Regions from separate parts of the Homo sapiens genome. Here all the other regions are linked to region 2. Evidence: promoter capture Hi-C in human tissues and cell types (Jung and others, 2019). All regions are on one chromosome and are shown on one strand. Each heading gives the region's core, a stretch centred on a gene start or on the middle of the fragment in contact. The rest is flanking DNA. Distances are from core to core; before and after follow the strand shown. Region 1 holds the start of SPC24 (SPC24 component of NDC80 kinetochore complex). Region 2 holds the start of ELAVL3 (ELAV like RNA binding protein 3). Region 3 has its middle 4.8 kb from the start of ZNF69. Region 4 overlaps SMARCA4 (SWI/SNF related BAF chromatin remodeling complex subunit ATPase 4).

Evidence for each region. Contacts are between HindIII fragments. The study calls those that stand out against the background at their distance.
Region 1: the fragment with the promoter of SPC24 here is called in contact with the fragment with the promoter of ELAVL3 in region 2 in 4 of the 25 tissues and cell types used here (dorsolateral prefrontal cortex, lymphoblastoid cells, mesenchymal stem cells and 1 more).
Region 3: a fragment that was not itself captured here is called in contact with the fragment with the promoter of ELAVL3 in region 2 in 4 of the 25 tissues and cell types used here (dorsolateral prefrontal cortex, hippocampus, lymphoblastoid cells and 1 more).
Region 4: a fragment that was not itself captured here is called in contact with the fragment with the promoter of ELAVL3 in region 2 in 2 of the 25 tissues and cell types used here (aorta and spleen).

What each region holds. Positions count from the first base shown.
Region 1 is chr19:11,153,151-11,157,301 of GRCh38, forward strand. It overlaps SPC24 (SPC24 component of NDC80 kinetochore complex), which reads right to left and starts at 2,632. Exons shown (of 5, transcript NM_182513.4): 1 at 2,467-2,632. The coding sequence starts at 2,626. RefSeq lists a silencer at 2,589-2,748. The HindIII fragment of the contact is 16,265 bases long and covers 1,574-4,151 here.
Region 2 is chr19:11,478,963-11,482,592 of GRCh38, forward strand. It overlaps ELAVL3 (ELAV like RNA binding protein 3), which reads right to left and starts at 2,084. Exons shown (of 7, transcript NM_001420.4): 1 at 1,638-2,084. The coding sequence starts at 1,646. RefSeq lists silencers at 602-796, 3,171-3,420, 3,451-3,630. The HindIII fragment of the contact is 31,814 bases long and covers 1-3,630 here.
Region 3 is chr19:11,880,992-11,885,048 of GRCh38, forward strand. No RefSeq gene overlaps it. Among named protein-coding and RNA genes, the nearest start is that of ZNF69, 4.8 kb to the right of the region's middle. RefSeq lists an enhancer at 330-509. The HindIII fragment of the contact is 6,745 bases long and covers 1-4,057 here.
Region 4 is chr19:11,023,854-11,027,726 of GRCh38, forward strand. It overlaps SMARCA4 (SWI/SNF related BAF chromatin remodeling complex subunit ATPase 4), which reads left to right. Exons shown (of 35, transcript NM_003072.5): 21 at 478-585; 22 at 1,569-1,655; 23 at 2,447-2,493. Among named protein-coding and RNA genes, the nearest start is that of LDLR, 64 kb to the right of the region's middle. The HindIII fragment of the contact is 3,199 bases long and covers 1-3,139 here.

The DNA.
Region 1 (4,151 bases), core at 1,382-3,881, 330 kb before region 2:
AAAATAGAGTCTTGGCTGGGCGTGGTGGCTCACGCCTGTAATCCCAGCACTTTGGGAGGTCGGGGCAGGTGGATCACGAGGTCAGGAGATCGAGACCATCCTGGCTAACACGGTGAAACTCTGTCTCTACCAAAAAAAATACAAAAAAAAAATTAGCCGGGCGTGGTGGCGGGTGCCTGTAGTCCCAGCTACTCGGGAGGCTGAGGCAGAATGGTGTGAACCCGGGAGACGGAGCTCGCAGTGAGCCAAGATCACGCCACTGCACTCCAGCCTGGGTGACAGAGCGAGACTCCATATCAAAAAAATAAAAAAAAGAAAATAGAGTCTTGGGCTGGGCGCAGTGGCTCATGCCTATATTCCCAGCACTTTGGGAGACCGAGGCGGGCGGATCACGAGGTCAAGAGTTTGAGACCAGCCTGGCCAACATGGTGAAACCCCATCTTTACTAAGAATACAAAAATTAGCTGGGCATGTTGGCACGTGCCTGTAATCCCAGCTACTTGGCAGGCTGAGGCAGGAGAATTGCTTGAACCCAGGAGGCATAGGTCGCAGTGAGCAGAGATCACGCTGCTGTACTCCAGCCTGAGCAGCGGAGTAAGACTGTCCTGGGAAAAAAAAAAAAAAGAAGAAAATATGGCTGGGCACGGTGGCTCATGCCTGTAATCCCAGCACTTTGGGAGTCCGAGACGTGTGGATCATGAGGTCAGGAGATCGAGACCATCCTGGCTAACACGGTGAAACCCCGTCTCTACTAAAAAAATATATATAAAAATATTAGCCGGGCGTGGTGGCGGGCACCTGTAGTCCCAGCTACTCGGGAGGCTGAGGCAGGAGAATGGCGTGAACCCAGGAGACGCAGCTTGCAGTGAGCCAAGATTGCGCCACTGCACTCCAGCCTGGGTGACAGAGCAAGACTCCGTCTCAAGGAAAAAAAAAATACAGTCTTGAAGAGATATTTGGGCACCCGTGTTCATAGCAGCGTTATTCAACACAGCCAAAAGGTGGATACAACCCAAGTGCCCATGGATGGATGAATGAATAAACACAATGCGGTCCATCCTTCTATATCATGAAATATGACTCAGCTTTAAAATGGACGGAAATTCTGGCCAGGCGTAGTGGCTCACCCCTGTCATCCCAGCACTTTGGGAGGCCGAGGTGGGCGATCACTTGAGGCTGGGAGTTTAAGACCAGCCTAGCCAACATGGTGAAACCCCATCTCTACTAAAAATACAAACATTAGCTGGGCATGGTGGCGCATAAGTGTGTTCTCAGCTACTTGGGAGGCTGAGGTGGGAGGATCACTTAAGTCTGGGAGGCAGAGGTTGCAGTGAGCCAAGATCACACCACTGCATTCAAGCCAGGGTAATGGAGCGAGGCTCTGTCTCACAGTAAGTACACAAAATGAAAGGAAATTCTGATACAGGCTATGACATGGATGAACCTGGAGGACATTATGCTCCATGAAATAAGCCAGACACAAAAGGGTAGATATTGTATGATTCCACTAGGAAGGGTAGATATTGTACAATTCCTCGTAAGGTTCCTAGAGGAGTCAAATTTGAGACAGAAAGTAGAACCCTGGTGGGTGCCAGGGTCTGAGAAGGGGATGGGGAGTGAGTGTTTCATGGGGACAGAGCTTCAGTTTGGAAAGATGAGAAAGTTCTGGAGATGGATGATGGTGCTGATGGTTGCACAGCAGTGTGAATGTGCTTAAGGCCACTGAACTGTGCAGTTACAGATAGTGAAGATGGGCCGGACACAGTGGCTCACGTCTGCAGTCCCAGTACTTTGGGAGGCTGAGGCAGGCAGATTACCTGAGGTCAGGAGTTTGAGACCAGCCTGGCCAACGTGGTGACCCCCCGTCTCTACCAAAAATACAAAAATTAGCCGAGTGCGGTGGCAAGCGCCTGTAATCCCAGCTACTCAGGAGGCTGAGGCAGGAGAATAGCTTGAACCCGGGAGGTGGAGGTTGCGGTGAGCCCAGGGCCTGGCAGCAGCAGATGCTCCATAAAACATCTGAATGCCTTCAGGAAGAAGGGATGGGCTATTGTCACAACCATTTGACAAGGAAGGAAGCTGAGGCACAGAGAATTTAAGAAACTCACCTCAAGTCTCACAGCGGACATGGGGATGGGTGCTAGGATTCAAACCCGGAGCTTTGACTCCTGAGCCCCAGTTCAAACCCTGAGACCCCCAGCTCCTGCTCACGGAGAGCTCAGAAGGGGCCAACCCCTCCAGACTCCTATATTTACCACTAAACCCCTGGGGGGTGGGGGATGGTTGCTGTCATAAAGCCGATTTCTCAGATGGTGAAACTAAGGCTCAGAGGGGGCCGTCCCAGGGGGCATAGGGCAGGAGATGGGAGAGTCCAGGAGAGAAGGGGTTTTGAGGTGGGCCTGGTCGCCCCCTCCCAGCACCCGGGCCCCTTCCCCCGTGGGCCCGCGACCACGCTCCGACCCTCACCTCGCAGCTGCTTCTCGGCACCGTCTTGCGTTTCCAGCAGCCGCTCCACCACCTGCTCGTGGCGCCCCAGCAGCCGTCGCTGCTGCGCCTCCGCGCGGTTGGCGCCCAGCAGGCTGAGCAGCCCCTGGCTCACCTCCTCTATGTCGCGGAAGGCGGCCATGACTACGCCAGGCTCCAACCCGCGCAAATTTGACTGTCCGCGGGGCCCGCCCTCTTCCAGAAGAGGTTGCTTTCCATTGGATTTTTTGATACGTCAGTCATAAGCAATGGCCAATAGGCATGGGGAACAGGATCTTAGACTGGGCTAAGCCGCCTTTGGTCTGGCCTGGTGCGCCTGCGACCACTCCTCCGTCAGTCATCGGTGATGACCAATCGGCGCAGGAAGGGGGAGGCTCCGTTATCCTTCCCGATGCGCCTGCGCGGGAGAGAAAGCGGCTGTTTATTTCTCCATAGGTCGAGCGCTTGCTCTGTGCAGGGTGGGGTTCTAACGGCAAAGCAGCGAGCAGCTTCTCCTGGAACTTACATCCTACAGTGTGTGCGTGGGATACACAATAAGCATAGAGAATAAGTAGATTCTATGAGAGGCTGCATAGCAAAATGGCGTCTGCAGCCAGATTTACTGGGTTCGAATCCCAGCGTTGCCACTTACTAGCTGTGTTACCCTGGACAGACTTCACCTCTCTGTGCGGTACTTTCCTCCTTAGTAAAATGAGGGTCATACTAGTGCCTGTGTCAGCGTTGGCGTGAGAATTCTTCTTATTACTTTTTTTTTAGAGACAAGGTATTGCTCTGTCACCCAGGCTGAAGTGCAGTGCCACAATCATAGCTCATTGCAACTTCGACCTCCTGGCCTCCAGCAATCCTCCTGCCTCCGCCTCCCAAAGTGCTGGGATTACAGGCGTGAGCCACCGAGCCCAGCCTGGCGTGATAGTGTCTCCTATTCAGTAGGTGCTATATAGTTGTTTAATGAAACATACATAGAATCCTAGCATGTAGCTGGGTGCAGTGGCTCACGCCTGTAAGTCTGAGCTCTTTGGAAGGCTAAGACAGGAGGATCGCTTGAGCCCTGGAGTTTGAGACTAGCCTGTCTCAAAACAAAACAAAACAAAGAAAAGATCAGTGCTGACTCTAAGGTGCTGGTTCCATGCTAGACACTGGTATTTCTGCAAGAAACAAGATGTTAAGATGGCATCTTTTTTTCTTTCTCTCTCTTTTTTTTTAAGACAGAGTCTCACTCTGTTGCCCAGGCTGGAGTGCAAGGCATTCCAGCCTGCTTCCTGGGTTCAAGGCATTCTCCTGCATCAGCCTCCCGAGTAGCTGGGATTACAGGTGCCCGCCACCGCACCCAGCTGATTTTTTGTATTTTTAGTAGAAACGGGGTTTCATTATGTTGGCCAGGTTGGTCTTGAACTCCTGACCTCGTGATCTGCCTGCCTCAGGCTCCCAAAGTGCTGGGATTATAGGCGTGAGCCACCGCGCCTGGCGTGGCAACATTTTTATGTGTGCTACCACCTAAAGAACATCTCATTGCTTTCCTATGATTTTTTTTTCTTTTCTTTTCTTTTCTTTTTTTTTTTTCTTGAGACAGAGTTTCGCTGTTGTTGCCCAGGCTGGAGTGCAATGGCGCGATCTCAGCTCACTGCAACCACCACCTCCCAGGTTCAAGTGATTCTCCTGCCTCAGCC
Region 2 (3,630 bases), core at 834-3,333:
TCCTGGTCTTAATTTGTCACCTCTCTTCCTCCCAGCCTGTCCCCATGATACATCTCTGCCCCAGGGCTCGCTCACTGGAGAACCTAGGTCCTCAAGGCCCTTGTGTGACCTCTGACCACACCCTCTTTCCCTTTGTGCATTAGTTTCCTTTTTCAAATGAGAGAACCGATCAGAGGACGCTTAGGAGATGCTGGACTGTTGCGGGAGTTCTGAGGTCCTCAGGAGGCCACACTCCAGTTCCCAGACCTGGGTGAACAGCACGAGGCCCAGAGAGGGAAAGGAACGGCCTGAGGTCACACAGCAGGTGAGCCAGGCCTCCGGGACCTCATTTCTCAGAGCCAGGTGGGCGGGTCCCAGGGTCCAGGAGGGGAGAGGCTTAGGCATGGAGGGAGCGCCAATCATGCCCCCACCCCCAGTGCTAGCCACGACTCGAAAAAGGGGCCCGGAAAGAGACACAATGCACAGAGACACACACGCAGAGACGGAGAGATAGGAAGAGTGGAAGAGGGAGGCCCAGGCGCCGGGACCAGACAAAGGACGCGCGGCGGCGCGGGGAGCGGAGTCGCGCGGCAGGGGCGGGGGTGGAGCCGGGGTGGGGCTATAACTGGCCAGCCCCGCCCCCGGGATACGCCCGGGCTGCCGAGTGGGAATCCGAGGGCTCGGGCGAGGCCGGGCCCCCGGGGCCCTGGGGGCGGGGCCTAGATGGGCGTGCCCGGGCGTGGCCAGGCAGGGCGTGGCAGGGCGGGAGGGGCTGCGCGCTCGGGAGCTGACCAGCTCCGTGGCTGCTGAAAGCACCGAGCGCGGGGCTAGCGGTGCGGGCGAGCAGGCGGGCGGGCCGCGCTCAAGGTCACCTCGCGGCCCAGAGCCTTGGCGAGGTGGGGAGCCTGGACCTGGCCTAAGGGGGCTGTCTCGGCCTCCCACCCCATCTCCCGGGGGGCGGAGACCCGGGAGCCCAGAGGTGCCCCCCCAACCCGCGGGCCCTCCTCTCCCCTCCCCCTCCCCGCAGCCCGAGGCGCCCGCGCGAGGCTGCGGCCCGCGAAGAAGCGCCGAGAAACAAAGGGACGCGGCAGCAGCGGCGGCGGGCCCGCGGGGCCTCCGGGCGCGCCCCCTCCTCTCCCCTCCCCGCTTGCCGCAAGGTCGACGGGCTCGAGGACGAGACGCCCGCCTCCCGGGTGCGGCCGAGGCCCGGGGCGCGCGATCCGACGCCACCCGCTTTCCCAGGGCTCTCGGGGACGCTTTGTCGCTTTGGCTTGGCCCAGCACCAGTGATCGGGCCCTGCGTTTGCCTGGGCGGCCTGCGGGGTCTGGGCCTGGATGGAGGAAGCATCCTTAGCCGCCGCGGCCCCTCCCCCATCAGGCCTGCTGGAGAGGGGGCAATCCCGCCTCCAGGGCGGCGTCGGACGCCTCCCGAATCGCAGTCAGTCTCCCTAAGGCCCTCTCAGACCAAGCTCTAAGCGCCCTCAGCACTCTGGGCGCGGCCCTGCCCACTCTCAGGCCCCGAGGCTTGGTCCTACCCCCCCAACCCGGGCCTAGCTAGGCCTGGTCCTACCCCCCCCGCCGCACCCGCCCAATCTCCGCGGAGCCTGGGCCCAACTCCTCCCCGTCCCGATTCCCTTTCGGCGACAGGGGAATACCTACAGTGACCATTCTTGTGTGCCCGGCGGGCGCGGTCCGTGTTGAGGGGGGCTCCGGGGGTGGTGCACTCCTAGGGGGGCGCCCGATGCTCACGCTGGGGTCCCGCCCGGGCGGCCTCTGGTGCGGCCGCTGCAGATGTGGCGATGAAGGCGGCGGCTCCCTCGAGGGCCAGGGACGGGCCCGAACCCGGGGATGCGCGCGCGGATGGCCGGGCCCCGGGGTGGCCTGCGGGCGGCAGGGGATGGAAAGAGGGAGCGGGCGCGGGGTTGAGGACGCCCCCTGCGCGGCCCCGCGGGGCCCGGGGAGGTTGCGCTTCCCGACAGAGATCGCGGCGCTCTGCCTTTCGCCGCCGCCCCTCGGTCGGTCCTGTCCGGTCCCGTGTGTTCAAGTCCTCTCCCCTCGCCCACCCTCCCTCCCTCCCTCCGGCCCGCGCTGCGCGCTCCGCGCTCTGGACCGCGCCGCCGCCGCCCCCAGCCCTTTATAGCAGCAGCTGCCAGCGCCGGCGTCGCTCATTGGCTGCGGCGACCGAGCTCCGCCTCCTCGCGGCTCCCGACGGCGCGGCAGGTGGAAGTGAGCGCGCACTGGTCGGGACTCTGAATCCCCCAAAAGCGCATCCTAGGTGCTCGGGTTGCCAGATTTGGGCCCTCCTTCCCTCGAGGCCCTTGCTTCCTACCCTGGCACCCCTTCTTGGGCTGGCTTTCGGGCCAGGAGACGGGCTCCCCTCCTCCGTCCAGCTCCTAGAGCTGGAGGAGCCAACAGAGCGAGGAGGTATTAGTGGCCTGAATATGCGACCTTCCAGAGGTGTTGTCCACTGAGGGAACTGGACAGGGGATCAGGAACCAATATTTTAGTAGGCAGAGGCCTGGGTCCCCAGATTTGGAGGCACCAGTGTAGACCACCTCAAGACCACGGGGGAGGGTGGCTACTGTGGCCCTAGTCTTCTGCAGAAGGAGACTGGGACGCTGTTGGTTTTGAGTGAGCTGGATCCTTCTAGGGTTCAAAAGGTAAGGACTGGCACTCCCCAGTGCAAGGAAACTCCGCACTGCTCCGAAGGGGGTGAAAAGGTTTGGGGCTCAGTGTTCTGGACAATCATCGCTGGAGCCATGCAGCTCTGGGAAACCACGGATCCTTCTTGGACCCCACAGAACTGGGGTGGGTGGATCTGCCACATAAATGTCCTGGCTTTCTAGGCTCGTGATTGGTCCTCCTGACTGTGGAGTCATGCTCGCTCTCTGCTAGGGGGAACCTGGCCTCTCTCTAAGGCGTTGGGGGTGGCGCAGCCTCCTTTGGTGCGCGGGCGCCGGTGCATGTTTACGTCGGGGCGCGGGAACTAGCACACACTGGGGCGGGGTCGCCAGGGCGTGAGGCTTCAGCACCACAGACAGCAATCCGACAGTCCGGTCGAGGGCGCTGCCGGCGAGGTAGCCCAGACCCCCTAACTGGAGAGCGGCAGTCCCCACCCAATCCTCGTTCCTGCACGCCCTTTAGGCTCCAGACTGTCAGAGAGCGCCACCAGCGAGGAGAGCCTAATTTGCCCAATCAGGGGCGGCCCTTGAGATAACCAGTTACTGGAAGATGCCCTAGAGATCGAGCCAATGGGAGTGCGCGCACCAGGGGATGCTGCCACGCCTGGAAAGGGCAGGCCAATCGCAGTGGCCCGCGCAATAGGGGCGGTGGCGGTGCAGATCCCCGGGTGGCCCCTCTTGGGCTCGCCGGGGCGACCTGGCTGCGGGCGCTAGGGGCCCCAAGCGATGGTCTGTTCCCCACCCCGTGTTCCTCCCGGTTTCCGTCATCGGAAACTGAGCTAGGAGGGGGGCTGCTCCTGGGCGCGCGGACCCCGCTGCGGTTCCCATGGAAACCTGCCGGCTCCGGCAGTGCGGGGAGAGTGGAGGGGACCTGCCTCGCGGGGGGAGGGAGCTCGCGGGGGCGGCCCCAGCGGCCGGACTCGCTCATCCTTGCCGATTCTTCTGTCCCCGGCTGGGGTAGCCCCCCGGTC
Region 3 (4,057 bases), core at 966-3,465, 400 kb after region 2:
GACAGGAGATCGAGACCCACCCATTTTGACGAATAAACCCGGACTCTCAGCAACGCGGGGAAGAGAGGCTTGCAATACCGCAGCGACCAGGTAAACTCTGTGCACAGACCAAGGTGGGAAACGTTGCAGGGGCAACAAAGTAATTCTTTGGTAGTCGGAGGGGTGTGTCAGGGCATTCTGGGGGTTGAAAGTGCATGAATGGTAACAAGCACTACTGCTGTGCGGAGCGAGTGAGTCCAATCTGCGGTTCTGTGGTCACCTCACACGGCTTAGGGCAGCCCTGCGGGGGTCCTGTCACAGGTTTATACGGACCTGCCATCAATGCTAAGAGGAACCTGAAACAAACCTGCGAGGGAAGCGGCCAGAGTGGATGAAGCGAAAGAAGGGTGCAAGGAACCTCCAGCAGGTGGAGCTAAAGGATAGTGGAATTGAGCCTTAGCCACACTTCCAGTGAGGGATAGGCAAAAGACCTCCTAATATGAGGGGTTGAGCCACAAGGAACCCCCCAAATAGGCAAGAGATCCTTAATTTGAGAGGCTGAGCCACAAGGAACCCCCAAAATAGGCAAGAGATCCTTAATATGAGGGGTTGAGCCACAGCAAGCCCCCCTAGGCAAGAGATTCCTATCACGAGGGATTGAGCCTAGCCAGGACCCAGTATAGGAAATATTACAAGCAAAAAAGACAAAGTTAGCAACAAAGATATCCCCCCTAATAGTCCCCTAGGTCTCATGTTAAAACATTAGAAAGATAATGAAAAGACTAAACATAAGAAAAAGCAATTAGTGATAAAATATTGCTGTTCCATTTAGACTCAAGAACGAATCCTTGAACCCTTAGTTTTCTGGCCAGAATTTAAGTCGAATGAGGGATGGATTTGTGAACTTCTAATAGAAAATGTTGCTAGTAGAAGACCTGCCTCCTGAGAAGAAACAAATTATGCCCTATGTTAGTTGCAAGGAGTTGTCCTTTCCCCTCCTCCAAGGATTGAAAGGAGCAAGTCAAAAACTAATATTTGGAGGAAAATGAGTTGTACATGTGCCCTATTAAGATAGAACCATCTTTAATGAAAAAGACAGTGAAGGAAGGGGCTTGGGGGATCCTAGCAAAAAGAACAACTCGCAAGATCCCCTAGACCATTCCCCACCTAATACCCAACCCTTCCCCTCAGGCATCGCCCAGTAAGTCTGTTCTTCCCCAGCCTAAGTCCCTCTCCCCTAAAGAACTCCAAGCTCCTAATTCACCAGATGGCTTTTGCCAGGCTAGCAACATGAAGGATCTGCCGCAACATGTTGTCAGCGTTGTCTGGCCCATAGTGCACCCCTGCAGCGGCAAAGCCCATGCTCCTGCCCACTGGCTGGTCCAAGGTCCTGGCACTGTATTGACGGCAGCTCTGCATGACATGCGAGCCAGGCCCCAGCCTATGCCCCATGCAAACTACATTATAGGATATCTGCCTTACTTTGCTGAGGCTAAGTAATACGGGGCTTCAGCGATGGCTCCAAGCAGCCTGGCATCCCCGCAGCTAAGTTTCCTGAGCAAGAAGTAGATAATCTTTCAGCGGATATATCCACTAGCATTTATTATAGTCAGGCCAGTGTTAAAAGTGAAAATATCCACCAGAAAAGAACTCTGATTCTTTAAAGTCACCTATGTTAAAATGTACCACCAAAAAAGAATTACATGTGTATAAATATGAGGCTATTCTGTTAAAAATGATAGTTTAATGTTACTAGTAATTTGCTTAACCTAACAAGTTTCTTAACGAAAGATCCAAATCTAAAAAGGAAGCACACATGTTTAGATTTAACTGATTACCATACAAATGTCCGGCCAAACTTAAGAGAAACCCCCTTCAAAAATGATTAAAGGAAAAAGGATTCAACAGATGTTCAATAATAAATAGAGAAGTTCCTAGAGAAATAAAATTTAAAAATTGTTTAATAGTTTACCCAAATTTGTAAGCTGTTTGCACTTAGTCAAGCTTTAAAGTAACTGCAAAGGAACCATCTATACTAATCTATATTGATTCTAAATACACCTTTATCGTGGCTCATACATTTAGAAAATTTCAGACAATAATAAAGGTCAAAGCCTTGTTCATGAAGAGTTAATAACCCAAGTGTTAAATAACCTTCAGTTACCAGAAAAAAAAAAAAAGCTATTTTCCACGTCCCCAGGCACCAAAAATCCTATCTTTCAAGAGTTAAGAAAATAACCTAGCAAATCAGATAATCCGAACCAGCTGCCGTTTCTCCTGTAGGCACTGAAGGGAATTCAAATGTTATTTAAACCTCTTATGAAAGAAGTCCTATCCCACCTAAATTAGAGGACCCATTAAAGACCTCAAGCTATGTATAGCACAGTTAAAGTTTATATGTGTATGAAAATGTACATCCTTAGCCAAACAAGTCTAGAAACTTAGTTGCCATAACTCAAATGTCTTCTGTCTTCCTATTAATCCAAACTACCTCTCAAAGCAATCCACTGCCAACATTCCTACATACTTGGTTTATCTTCCACTTTCTCTTCCCTCAAAACTCACAATTTTCCAGTACAGGTGCGGCTCCTGGAGTTCCCAGTGCGTCAACACCGGCCTGAGGAGCTGGCCTAGTACTTCCCACCATTGAAACTGCAGTCTGGACAGCAGAGAAAGGATAGACCCATCACACCCGAGTCAAGAAAGCACCGCCACCCCCAAAGTCGTAGGCCATTATTCCAGGGGAAAACCCCCTCAAACTAAAGCTAAGAAAAATTTAACCTCTTACATCTATTCTATTACTCTTTCTTCTTTTCCCCTTCCAATGCTGACCACCTTGTCATTAATGTAACTCAATCAAACTCACCCCAAGTTATCACGTTTAATGCTATGTCTAGTCATACCCTGTAAAGATCTCCAAAGTCAAAGACAAGTCTCAGCCTCAGAAAAGTATCTCTGCCCCTTTAAGGTGAAAGGCCCCCCCTACCAAGACTCTTGTTCCTTAACAAATATAAGAAAACAAGTCTGTCATAGCTAGAATGATGTCCTATGGACAACCAAATGTCAAGGCTAGACCTCATCAGCAGGTGGCTGTATATCCTTAAAACCATACATTCATTTCACTAAAAAAAGCACCTCCCCAATTGCCAGTATAATCAATGTAATCCCATACAAATTTCCACCTCTACTGACCCTAAACCTACTTTAAGTCACTTCTATGGAACAGGAGCCAACTTGGCCAGCACAGACCTCATAAGATCTTTCGAAATGCGTTTTATTAATCCTTCATTCTCTTCACCCCCTTCCTTCTCTTCTCCTTCTAAGCTTTCTTCTAATCAGACTGCCACCTGTTTTCTACCTAATGATACTACTAAAGTAAATATTGTAGAAGTAAAAGATTTAAGACAAACCCTAGCAATTAAAACAGGATATCAAGATGTAAATACCTGGTTGGAATGGATTCAATATTCCGTCCGCACATTGAACAAAAGCAATTGTTACGCTTGTATGCATGGCAGACTAGAGGCCCAGACTGTTTCCTTTCCACTAGGATAGCCCTTCAGCCGACCAGGCATAGGCTGTATGGTAGCTCTTTTCCAAAATTCCACAGCCTGGGGCAACAAATCATGCCAAGCTCTCTCTCTGCTATATCCCGAAGTCCAACAACCTGCAGGCCAGCCCCCAAAGGCCATTCAGCTTCCTTCTCCTGACGTCAATTTCACCTCATGTCTCTCACGACGAGGGGAGAATCTGGCGTTCCTTAGAAGCTTAACAAGATGCAATAAGCTTAAGCCCTTCCAAAAACTTACCCATCAGTCTGCCCTTAGTCATCCTCAAGCAGATGTATGGTGGTATTGTAGTGGACCTTTACTGGATACTCTGCCAAGTAACTGGAGCGGCACTTGCGCTCTTGTCCAATTGGCGATCCCTTTCACACTGGCATTTCATCAACCAAAAAAAAAGAAAAGCCACAACACCAAAAAATAAGAGAAGCCCCTTATAAGTCTTTTGACTCTCAAGTTTACATAAAGGCCATTAGAGTCCCATGGGGAGTGCCTAACAAGTTCAAAACCTGAGA
Region 4 (3,873 bases), core at 290-2,789, 460 kb before region 2:
AAATCCCACTTCCTGTCAGGGGGCCAGGTGCCTGTGCGGGCTCTCCTGGCCACATCAGGAGGGGCCGTGGGCTTGGGGTTGCCCCCCGGCCCCCCATCATGGCTCTGGGTTTTCAAGGCCTGCTGCAGCCACACCCCTGGGCCCAGTTCCCACAGCAAGACCCATGGACTCGGGGTCCCCGGCTGCAGTTGTCCCTCTTGGCTCTTTGTTTCCTGGCTGGCTGTAGAGAGGCCCCCAGAAGATGGCTGGGGGGCCCTTTCTGGCCCAGTAACCCTCTGGTATCTCTGCCTGGTGCTTCCTCTCATTGCCCAGGTCTCCCCTCTTCTCCCCAGCTGTGAGGGTCTCCTCACCCACACCCCAGTGTGCTCTGGTCAGAGCTCATATGACAGGGCCGAGGGGGTCAGAGCTGGGTTCGGATGGGGGGAGTCAGGCCTCAAGCCACCTTGGGCCCTCGTGAGCATTATGTGTCCCCTGCAGGTGGAGTACGTCATCAAGTGCGACATGTCTGCGCTGCAGCGAGTGCTCTACCGCCACATGCAGGCCAAGGGCGTGCTGCTGACTGATGGCTCCGAGAAGGACAAGAAGGTGGGCCCCAGAGTCCCCCAACTGCATTCCCCACTGGGTGTCCAAGGCCGGCAGCGTGGCAGGCAGAGCAGAGCGTGCTCTGACCATCGGGTCATGATCTGGTCATGATCCCCAGGGCATCTGGCCAGCCCTGGTTATGATGGCTGGTGGCTTGTGTCAGGACACACTGACTCAGCTGCCAGTGGCTTCTCCTTTGCCTATGAAACACTGGCTCCTTCTGCAATTGGCAGCCTGGGCCCAGCACTAACCCCAGCAGGGTTAGAGTGTTCTAGAATGCCCCCCTTCTCTGTTATTAAGTGAAAGGAAGGGAGCGGGCTGTCTCCTGCAGGGGCTGCTCTGAGAATCCCAGGCCCCAGGCCCCACCTGCCTGGCTCTCCTCACCAGCAGTGAAATTATCCTCCCAGGAAATGCACCAGACCCCTTGATTCTGCCCCCAAGGCCTTGACCTCGGCCTGGCTTCCCCGAGACGTTGTGTCTGTGCCCCTTCTCCCCTGAGCTGAGCAGCAGTGTGTTCCCTAGTCCATTCCCAGCCCAGAGCATGCACCCCCCGCCCCGCCCCCACCTCCTTCCTCATCCTGGAGCCCAGGGAGCCCTGAGTCATGGCTCACCCGGCTGAGGCCCTCTTGCCCAGCTGAGACCCTCTAGGGACCCCCACAGTAACAGTGCCCAGAACAAAGCTGGCATCACAAAGCATCGGGGACTCTGCCTCAGCCCTTTGCCAGTCTTGTTTCCGTCCCGTCCTGCTGGCCCTGTCCCTGCCATCTGCCCTCTGCTGTGCCAGGCAGTCATTTGTTTCCCAGGGCTTGTTGGGGGCCTCCGGGCCTCCAGCCTGCCATCTCCTCACTCCCAATTGCTGTGCCAAAAGCCACTCTTCCCCACTAGAGCGTCCCCATGGCCCTTCTCCCAACACCCACCCATCCACCAAGCCCACCCCACCCCAGGAGGGCAAGACCCCATTTGGGTCCCTCTCATCTGCCTTCCAGGGCAAAGGCGGCACCAAGACCCTGATGAACACCATCATGCAGCTGCGGAAGATCTGCAACCACCCCTACATGTTCCAGCACATCGAGGTGAGCCCGCCGCGGCTGGGACGGCTCAGGCCCTGCTGTCTGCTGAGCTCCTAGGCAGAGCTGGCTTCTCCTCGACAGCTCTTTAAAAACAGACTCGAATATTTTCATTAGGTAATGCCTGTACATCTGTCTCTCATTTGGTCTTCGCTTCACCAGTGCTTACGGGAAGAATCCCAGCAGTTAGGGCGCAACGTGCGATAGGAATATAGGGCCCTGAAAGCTTGCCCTCAGAGAGCAGGAGCGTTTGGAGACTTCTCTGGGGATGTGTCCCCCCACAGTGGGGTCCTGCTGCGTCTCTTTGGCTCACTGGCTTTTCTCACGTTGCGGGGCGTCAAGAGTCACCACCGTCTTCAGTGAAGTGTGGGGGAGTCAGAACCCTTTTTGGTCATGGTGGCTTTGAGAATCTGGGTTCTTAGAAGCATGCATATGTTCGTGTTTCTTGGTGTAAAGTGTCAGGGTCGTTGGAGACCGCCTGCTGCCCCGAGAGCCCCTGGGGCTGTCTCAGCACCCTGAGCGTGGCTGTGGCCCCATGACGTCCTCGTGCATTCAGGGTGTGAAGAGTGCTGTATGGGATGTCCTTTCCTTCGTTGGAGGAGTGTGAGGGAAAGGATGTCAGTGGACTAAGAAAGATGGTTTTGGCATCTGTGTCTGGTCTCAGAGCCGCCGTGGGCCCGTGCCGAGCACACAGTGTGGGGGCTTTGTCCTCTGAGCACGAGCGGTGTGTGCGGACCGCAGCGGGGCCCGGTGGCCTGCTCCTGCCTGTCACTGACCCCTCTCTCCTTGCCTTGCAGGAGTCCTTTTCCGAGCACTTGGGGTTCACTGGCGGCATTGTCCAAGGGTGAGAAGCTTCCCAACTGGATGGGGTGGGCAGGTGGTCCACCCAGAGGTTTTCTGTCGTTTTGTTGGCTTTATTGCTGCTGTTATGTTGTCCAATTTCAAAGGCAGAAAATTAGAAAATACAGAAGAATCCAAAGCAAATAATACAAATCTTTTTTTTTTTTTTTTTTTGAGGTGGAGTTTTGCTCTTGTTGCCCAGGCTGGAGTGCAGTGACACAATCTCGGCTCACTGCAACCTCTGCCTCCTGGGTTCAAATGATTCTCCTGCCTCAGCCTCCCGAGTAGCTGGGATTACCGGCACCTGCCACCACCCAGCTAATTTTTTGTATTTTTAGTAGAGATGGGGTTTCACCATGTTGACCAGGCTGATCTTGAACTCCTGACCTCAAGTGATCCACCCGCCTTGGCCTCCCAAAGTGCTGGAATTACAGGTGTGAGCCACCGCGCCCGGCCCCATTATACAAATCTTTAGTGCTTGGAGAGCTGACCACTATTAACCCCAAGAGACAGGATTCCTGAGGCAGACCTGGCTTACAGATCCCACTCTGCCGCCTCCAAGCTCTGTGACTCTAGACAGCTTTCTTAACCTCTCTGAGCCTAAACTCTGCTCACTAGTACAGAGGCACTCTTTACATCATGTGGGTGTTTTCTATAGCACCCTTTGTAAGGGGCAGCCCAGACTCCTTTAAGCCCCTAATGGATGTGGATGCTGTGTCTAGATTTTCACCATTGCAAAGAACCTTGCTAAAAGCATTCTTCCAGCTAAAGCCTCCATTCAATTCCCCTGGGGTAGTAAGCCATTTGCAAGAAGAGAGGCGCCTAATGAAAACATCACAAATTCTTTTTGATGTGTTTTTTTATACTGAGTTGTGGAACAGGGTCCTGTACACCTGGCTTCAAGGCTGGGAGGCCTGGCTTGGACATGTGGTCAGCCATATCACGTCGTCCCCCTGCCAGCCTCAGTGTCCACATCTACAACACTTGGGGTTTGGCTGGAGAGAACATGAGAAGCCGAGGTGGCCCTTCCTTCTGGGTCTAGCAGAGCATGGGTGTCTCCAGTGTGGCATTTGCTCCTGGGGCTTCTTTATCGGGCAAGGGGACAAGGTCTGGCTTCCCGGAGCATCCCTGTTCCAGCCCCGTGTTGTGCCGGCCATGTGACTCACAGCTCCTCTCATTTTCATGAGTGTCTGGGTTTGACGAGAAATACATGTGCCACCCTGGTGATACGCCTCCCCAGCGAGGGTGGCCGGGCTTATTTCAGTTGGGGGAAATGGCTTTGCTGAAGCTTTGGGTGGGTGACGTCTGCTTAGGATGCATGTCTGTGCCCTTGAACCCGGCGCCTGGCCTGGAGGCGGGCGATGCACCTCCTGCCTTACCTGCC